Linked DNA regions of Homo sapiens: region 2 is linked to region 1. The links are contacts of gene promoters, found by promoter capture Hi-C in blood cells and fetal thymus (Javierre and others, 2016). All regions are on one chromosome and are shown on one strand. The core of a region is centred on a gene start or on the middle of the fragment in contact, and the rest is flanking DNA. Distances in the headings are between cores, read along the strand shown. Region 1 holds the start of CRYGD (crystallin gamma D). Region 2 overlaps DYTN (dystrotelin).

Region 1 (4,432 bases), core at 854-3,353:
TGTTTATATAGCTCTCTTATAAAACACATGCTTCTTTTCTTTACAAAAATGGAATCATGCTATACATATTAGTCTGCAACTTGCTTTTAAAATGTATTATAATATGGACATATATCTAGGTCAGTATCTTATTCTGTTTGATGGTTGAATTGCATCCCATTGTTTGGAGGTCCCTTAGACCATTTCACCATTTGTCCACTTAAGTGACTGGGCTTTTCCAATGTTGCTTTTACCAACAATGCTGCAAAGAATAACATTGTACATATACGCTAATCCTGACATGCCATAATTTTAAAAAGATAGCGACCTAGAAGTGAGACTACCGGCTCATAGTGCAAGTTTATTTTATTTTATTTATTTATTTTTTGAGACATGGTCACACTCTGTTGTCCAGGATGGAGTGCAGTGGCACAAACCCAGCTCACTGCAGCCTCGACCTCACAGGCTCAAGCGATCCTCCCATCTCAGCCTCCTAAGTAGCTGGGGCTACAGGCGCGCACCACCATGCCTGACTAATTTTTTCACTTTTTTGTAGAGAAGGGGTCTCACTATGTTGCCAGGGCTGGTCTCGAACTCCTGGGCTCAAGTGACCCTCCCACCTTGGCCTCCGAAAGTGCTGGGATTACAGGTGTGAGCCACCACACCCAGCCACAAGTTTATTTTCCATTTCAATAGCCTCCAATTATTAGCCACTAGAGACTCTTAACTTCCTTGAGTTAGGATCCTTACCAATTTTTGAGCACCTACCATACGCCTGCTATATGTAGCAATGGGGATGAAGAAAACAATCAAAACAAAACAAAAGAAAAAGGTATTTCCCTACCACCGTAGAGCTCTATATAGAAAGAATACAAAAAAAAAAAAGCAGCCAGAAAATAAGAATTAAAATAATTTGTATTGCACATAGTTGGTGTTTAATTCATAAATACCACTTACAAAGATTTATGACTCAAAGACAAGACAAAGTACTTCCATGGGTTGACACAGGGCTGTAAGCAATTCTTTGAACATGAAAGAAGCTGGACACATAGGTCATATTCCACTCCAGTACTCTTCCCAGTCCATCAAACTGCTCTCTTCCAGGCCAATAAGTACTTTCTGAAGTCTTCCTCGAGTCCAACTTCTAGATTTTTATTCCTTCCTCTCCCTGCATCATTCCAGCCATAGCTCCCCTTTGTGTTCATGCAATTAATTTCGTCTGAGTCAAAGGCCTTGTGTACTCTCGCTCGTTCAGAGGGCAAAGGTGTATTCTAGATCCTACCAGAAATAAGTTTCTTAGGAATTTGGTTTTATTTTATAACAAGCTAAGAGATCATGTTTTTGTGTTTCAAACATATTACTTTTTCTAATTTCCTCAAACTTAGATATTTCCCTTTTTAGTTCTTTCTGAGATTAAGCATCTTAGAACTATTCTCTCTTTTGAATCACGGCACCACCTTTAGCTAAGAGAAAAACATCTAATTCTCAGCTACTTCCAGGCATAATTGCAACAAAATCAGACCCAATATTGAAGATTCACGTTTGCTGTGTGTTTTACCATAATAAAAGTTCGAAATTCTGTGAACTCTCTTAATAAAATGTTCCAATTTCTTACACCCTTTCATGATGACGTTCTCTTAAAGGACTAACTTGAAATTTTCAACATTCAGTTAAGCCCATTTCCTTCCTATTAACAATCAGTATTCAATATTGTGGCACGTAAGTAATACTGTAGTTCTGACAGATTAATTTATATTTGCCTTATTAAGAGTCGTTGCTTTTTTTGCTCCCCGACTTAAATTTTTTTTGTTTTTCCCCAATCTATACGAATAAAAGCGTGAACTATATGTGAAATAGCTGAAGCTCCACTTCCATTATAAATAGACAATGTCCCAAATTGCCGTTTTACAAACATTCTCAATAGCATCAGCCAGTGATAGCAATCCGAATACTCCAGAGAGAATGCGACCAAAACCCACAACAAGCCCCGTGGTCTAGCACAGCAAAGAGAAAAAAAGAGAACACGAAAATGCCCTTGCTCCCCTCCGGGGGCCCCTTTTGTGCGGTTCTTGCCAACGCAGCAGCCCTCCTGCTATATAGCCCGCCGCGCCGCAGCCCCACCCGCTCAGCGCCGCCGCCCCACCAGCTCAGCACCGCCGTGCGCCCAGCCAGCCATGGGGAAGGTGAGCCCAGCCTGCGCCCCGGGACCCCGGAGCTTCCTCCATCGCGGGGGCCAGAGACTGGGGCAGGAGCAGGCCTGTGAGACCTCGCCTTGTCCCGCCTTGCCTTGCAGATCACCCTCTACGAGGACCGGGGCTTCCAGGGCCGCCACTATGAATGCAGCAGCGACCACCCCAACCTGCAGCCCTACTTGAGCCGCTGCAACTCGGCGCGCGTGGACAGCGGCTGCTGGATGCTCTATGAGCAGCCCAACTACTCGGGCCTCCAGTACTTCCTGCGCCGCGGCGACTATGCCGACCACCAGCAGTGGATGGGCCTCAGCGACTCGGTCCGCTCCTGCCGCCTCATCCCCCACGTGAGTACATCCTCAAGTCAGGACCCAGGCCCTCAGGACACTCACTGGATGGTTTCAAGCAAAAGTTAAACATTAGAAGTAGTGATCAGTCACAATAACTGAGAGTGGACAAAAGATGAACTATAGTGGATTAAGTCAATAGAGTTTGCTCCCCACATAAGCAAAGTATTACCCAGACACCAGTTAATCACAATTAATCCACAAATATGTATTGAGTAGGAATGTGTCTCCTGCCCTAGGGGTTGTATAAGACTTAAGTCCTATTCTGGAATCATTTAGAATGGAGTTGTAGAAAAACCACTAATACCCAATAGAAGAATAAATGCTAGAGCGTACAGCAGTTACTGAGCAAACAGGGTAATTTCTTTTGAGACTTTTTCCCGTTTTTGCTCCTCTCTTGCATATTTTGGGTTTTCCCAACCTATATAAGTAAGACTTTCCTTCAAAGGAGAGCAACACACATATTTTACACATGTGTCCCTTTTATCCCATATGTGTGTTAGAACACTAAAGTTTATGCAAAATTCGTCCTTGGACTTACTGATGTTTCTTCCTCCATTTTTCTTCATTGCATTCACAAGTTATTGACTTAGAATTAATTGTTCTTTAATATATGAAGATATTTAACATTTTATATTTTAATATATTTTAAATATTTATATTTTAATATATTTAAAACACTTATATTTTGAATAGAAGGCTTATATATTTAACATATTTTATTTATGTCATTGATTTAAATGATGCATTATCATTTAATTCAATATATTAAATGATATATTTAATATATTTTAAATACTTATATTTAAAATACATATTTTTATATTTTAAATATATTTACATTAAATATATTTAATGAATATAATGTATTTAATAATATATTTATTTAATAAATATGTATTTAATATATTTATATAACTACATAAATTATATTATATTTTAAATATATTTAACATATTTTAAATATATTTTAATATATTTTTAATATATTTCATTTACATTATATGTGTGTATATATATATTTTTGTTGTTGTTGTTTTGTTTTTGTTTTTTGAAACAGAGTCTCACTCTGACGCCCAGGCTGGAGTGCAGTGGTGCAATCTCGGCTCACTGCAACCTCCGCCTCCTGGATTCAAATGATTCTCGTCTCTCAGTCTCCTGAGTAGCTGGAGTTACAGGAGCACGCCACCACACCCAGCTAATTTTTGTATTTTTATTTTTATTTTATTTTATTTTATTATTTATTATTATTATTTTTTTTGACGAAGTCTTGCTCTGTTCCCCACGCTGGAGTGCAGTGGCATGATCTCGGCACACTGCAACCTCTGCTTCCTGGGCCCTAGCAATTTTCTTCCCAAGTAGCTGGGATTACAGGCACCCGCCACCACACCTGGCTAATTTTTGTATTTTTAGTATAGACAAGGTTTCGCCATATTCGTCAGGCTGGTCTTGAACTCCTGACCTCAAGTGATCCACCTGCCTCGGCTTCCCAGGGTGCTGGGACTACAGGCATGAGCCACTGCCCCACCCCTTATATTTCTGTATTTTAAATATATTTTATTTATATTTTAGTAAAGTTATTTTAAAATAAAATATAATTTGTAAAATAAATATAATTTTAATTTATACTTATAAAATATAATTTGAATATAATTATTAAAATAAAATATGATTAACTTTAAATAAAATATAATTTTATACATTTTATAATATATTTTAAATATAGTATATAATTAAATATGTATTAGATATCATATGTATATTAAAATTATACATTATTTAAATATATTTCTTTATAATTTAATGTTTATTTTAATATTAAAACATTTCTTCAAAATGGTATAAAATAGTAATAAGCTGTTACAGGTTTGGATTTGCATGTGGTACAGGATACTGAGCCTAGGAGGCAGCTCATCC
Region 2 (4,432 bases), core at 881-3,380, 1.4 Mb after region 1:
GATCTCTAGGATTTCCTTCCATGATGTGGGATTTATATAATGAGAGAGACTTTATTCATAATATTTTACGTTTTCTTTACAGATGCTCTTAATAGTATTGAGAATTCCATTTATAGAACAGCCTTCAAATTACAATCAGTGCAAACTCTGTGCCAGTGTAAGTATAGGCTCTCCTGAAATATTTGAAATAATCTGAGCTTGATGTGCGATGTAAAATTCATAGAGAAAACAAACACTCCCCCCATGCAGCTGACTACTGGATTCTGGAAGTCTGGACTTGTGCATTTAGCCCATTCGTGACAGAGAAGATGGAGGATGGGAAAACATCACGTGCAGGCAAACCATGTGTAGTTTTGCTGATGAGCAATAGAAATAATTGTGCATGAGGATTTTTAATTTTTTAAATATTTTCTCCACTTGGCTTCTTCTAGAAAATGTTTTTGGTTTCCTTTTCAGGATACCAATATGGACACAAAATAAAATTGCAAAAAAAAAGTATTTTCAAAACTGCACTTATAGATTTAAGTATAAAAATATAAAATTCCATCTACCACGTAAGATTTGCATTTTCAAGTTGTACCTATAATCTATATATGAACATGCAAAAGTAGGTACAAATGAATAAATAACCCATGGACCATGAATTTTAAAACTATCTCGAGAATTCCCTGAGAACTGCCCCTTTTTGCAGTAAATTTATATCTGATTGAATGTATGGTTTTCTTTTCTTTTCTTTTCTCCTACTGTTATCTAGGCAAAATAAGGTAAAATGTTTTTACTAAAACATGTATCCTGTGAAAATTTTCCAAGGTGAAAAATAAACTGGGTCCAAGCTATGAAACACATCAGGCATTCAGCATATCTAAAGTTATTGATTTCTCACTGCATGAAAGAAAAATCACTTCACGTAAAATGATTTCTGAAATTTATCATATCAGACCTAAGAGAAGTTATGTTATATATATGACATTTCTACTGAAGGCTGACATTTAAAAATATTTTTCCTCCTGCCTAAAAAGTTATATAGGGCAGTGGTTTTCAAATTGGGCTTCACAAAATATATGTGAATGTAGGGTAGGGCAAAAAAGAGTTAGCCAGGTGGGAAGAGGAGTTGCAAGCAAGGTGGGACGATTCAAAGACCACATCCTCAGCAGGAACAACTCCATCCTTCTCTATTTTCCATACCGTGTTTGCTTGTATGTGTGTGTGTGTGTGTGTGTCTGTGTGTGTGTAAGCTGGGGTCTCACTCTGTCACCCAGGCTGGAGTGCAGTGGAGGGATCTCAGCTCACTGCAACCTCTGCCTCCCAGGCTGAAGCCATCCTTCCACCTCAACCTCCCGAGTAGCTGGGACCACAGGCGTGAGCCACCACACCCTGCCAATTTTTTGTATTTTTAGTAGAGACAGGGTTTCGCCATGTTGCCCGGGCTGGTCTTGAACTCCTGAGCTCAACTGATCTGCCCACAGTGGCCTCCCAAAGTGCTGGGATTACAGGCATCAGCCACCGCGCCTGGCCTTATACTGTGTTTCTGTATTAGGTTCCTTTGAAGAAGAAATTTTTGGTTTTAAAAACAGTTTTATGTAGATTACTGCTCTAGATAAAGAAACTCACTTATAACTATTATTTATTATTCCAGGAACAAACAAAAAGCTAAAAATTTACCCCCAATTATGCATTTTCCTGGAGAATTTCTCCCATTAGAGAAAGTTAGCAGCAATTGTTCACATGTCCCAGTCACGAATGCCTGAGTATGTTCCGTAGCGTAATTTGTGGATGCACAGTTTTCAACTTTTTGTTATCTCTGGCATCAGAAACAGTGAATATAAATAACACTCATGGGAAATATTAACAATACACAAAATCAGTGGTTGAAAAATGTTACCTAGAAAAGATATCCAAACAAAAATTTAAAAACAGAAAATCCCAAACACTGAGATAAAGCATAACATGAGCTCCAAATAGGAAGATCGGGGACACATCGCTGTATAAATCTTGTGGTGAGATTAATGGACACCACTATTATCTGGTTTGGTGTAATATAGAACTCTCAGCAGGAGATGAAATCGGCCTGTGTTCAGAATGCCTGGCTGAGGTGACAGGTTTTAACGATAAAAGAGTTTACAGCCTTCACCACCTGCAGCCAGGTTTTTATTTAAGTCACATTCTGAAACTTGTTCCTCTGTTCCTTAGACTCTCCTCTTAAAAGCAATATCAGAGAACAAATAAAAATTTTTATTATACTTGCTAGATTTCTTATCTGAGGTTGATTTACGAAGTAGAGAGAAACCCAGGGTTTTATGGTTTCACAGGCTGAAGCGTTTTAAATGCCAGGAGCTCTTGGCGCTCTTGATATCCCCACCTCTCAGATGGTGCAAGTGGCTGTTTATTAATTTTGTCTGTCATCCTCTCTCTGCAAGAAGCTATGGGGTTAGCTCTATTACATTCTTGTTTCTATTCATTGCCTTGTAAAAATTTTAGGAGAAGGTGGTTAAAAAATATTCAGTATAAGAAATAAACCATTATTTTTTGTAAGCAGCTGTAGTTTTATTAAGTGCCTTCTCTAGATAATAATACTGATGGAACCAAGATTGTTAACAGTGGTATTACTGAGTTGCAGAATTCTCAGACTCTTTAGCCTAAAGATCTTTACAGAAGAGTAACTGCTCTTTTATGAAGATCACTGTTTTGTATTTAACTACGGCAATTGCTTTTCAACACACCATATTGCTTCTGAAGCTGGGCTGCAGACAAGAAAAACTATATTTGAACAGGAAAGGTAAATTTATTCAATCCACTTAATGAAGAGTATAAAAATGTTTTCCCCAACTTTTTACCACAGTGTCATAACTTTCTTGGAAAGCGTATTTTTCGTTTCTCACTTCCCTTTTTAACTTCTTTCTATAAAACAACATCCTAGAAACTGTACTGGTAATAATGTTACAACTATGCTTTACTAACAGATGCACCTTTCCAAAATCAAATGAATCGCTAGAATAGTAACGCCTGAAGTATACACAAGGAATATATGTCCAAATAGTAGTCATATTTCATTCCCCTTAAAAGAAAATAGCGACCATAAAAAGTCTTAATTATAAAACACCAAATGACATTTGCTTTATTTGAAGCCTTTTGTTCCCATCAGAAAATAAGGCTCAATTCTTCATTTGCTTCCTACAGTGGACTTGATTGACAGCTCCCTGATTCAGCAGGTCCTACTGCGTCCAAGTTTCTGGGAAGCTCGCAAGCACTCCCTTTCTGTGCAGCAACTTTCTCAGGCACTCCAAGAGCTGTTTCAGAAGGCCAGGGAGGAAAACCCAGGACAAGTGCATCCCAGAGCTCCGGAACTCACTCTGAGCCTTCTCACGACAATGTACAACAGGTGAGGGTGTGGACGTCGCGCTGTGACCTCAAAGGCAAAGTTTAGTTTCCAGTGGTCATTTACCATTTGGTGCTGGCTAATATTTGCTTGAGGTTTGGTATATAAGAAGTCTTCTTTGTTTGTTTTTCACAAATTTATTCCTCAGGAGTAGAACAAAGGAGTAAATGCCCATCGGCTTTAGGAATATAAATGACCCATGGATAGCAAAAAGAGGGAGAGAATTCCACATTATTCTTTCCTTCAGACAAATTCACTCCTACTCTAGAGAAGCATACACACCTTTTGCTAGGGCGTTTACACTTCCATATACACATGTGAAAAGCGACACTTAGTTCTTGCTACTGCTAGCTTCTTTGCTGATTTCTTTGTAAACCATTATCAATTGTTTTTTTTTTTTTTTTAGCTAGAATAAGGTTGAAAATCCTGTGCATGGATGGGTAACCTATAAACCAGTGTAGACCATGTCAAAGGGCTGATTGCATATGCTCTGAAGTCAATAGTTCTGCTAGTGTGTGGTAGGGGTGCGTGTGTTTTTTGAGCTGTAAGGTTTCAATTCCTCTGCCCCCTCCTCGATTTGGTTTACCTTATGTATCATTGACTCAGTAGACTTCATCCTTTAGAATTCATCCTTTAGAATAAACTTTTCAAAAATCATAGTGAATTCAAAACATTTGGAAAGTAGACGAAAAAAGTAAAGAAGAAGAAATACATTATCACCCATCAGCCTGCCTCCCAGAGGCAAGCACTGTTTTAACCACTGGGCAAATTCCTTACAGTTATTTTCTCTTCTAGTTTTTTTTTTTTTTAATTTTTTTTAACTGCCCAAACAATATATACATACATTCTCAAGTTATTTTTTCATTTCAGCTTCCTTAAACATTAAGCTTTTGACTGTCATTTCTATTATCTGTGCCTGTCTCTAACAATTCCCCTGCCTTCGATAAATTGTTCAGTACGTTTGTAAACTAGACAGCAAGTGGGCAAGGATGATTAGGCTCTGAGTGAGGGCCTGTGAACTAGATTTTTTTTTTCTTTGCATAAATATTTGTTCCT

The links. The method cuts DNA at HindIII sites, captures the fragments that hold promoters and counts their contacts. A CHiCAGO score of 5 or more calls a contact.
Region 2: a contact is called between a fragment that was not itself captured here and the fragment with the promoter of CRYGD in region 1, in 2 of 17 cell types (neutrophils and total CD4 T cells). The highest score is 6.7, in neutrophils.

Annotation. Positions count from the first base shown.
Region 1 is chr2:208,122,195-208,126,626 of GRCh38, reverse strand. It overlaps CRYGD (crystallin gamma D), which reads left to right and starts at 2,103. Exons shown (of 3, transcript NM_006891.4): 1 at 2,103-2,162; 2 at 2,273-2,515. The coding sequence starts at 2,154. The region is part of intron 1 of LOC100507443 (a long non-coding RNA gene); the gene reads right to left. The HindIII fragment of the contact is 13,257 bases long and covers 1-4,432 here.
Region 2 is chr2:206,706,249-206,710,680 of GRCh38, reverse strand. It overlaps DYTN (dystrotelin), which reads left to right. Exons shown (of 12, transcript NM_001093730.1): 2 at 83-157; 3 at 3,178-3,379. Among named protein-coding and RNA genes, the nearest start is that of DYTN, 9.9 kb to the left of the region's middle. The HindIII fragment of the contact is 4,270 bases long and covers 1-4,265 here.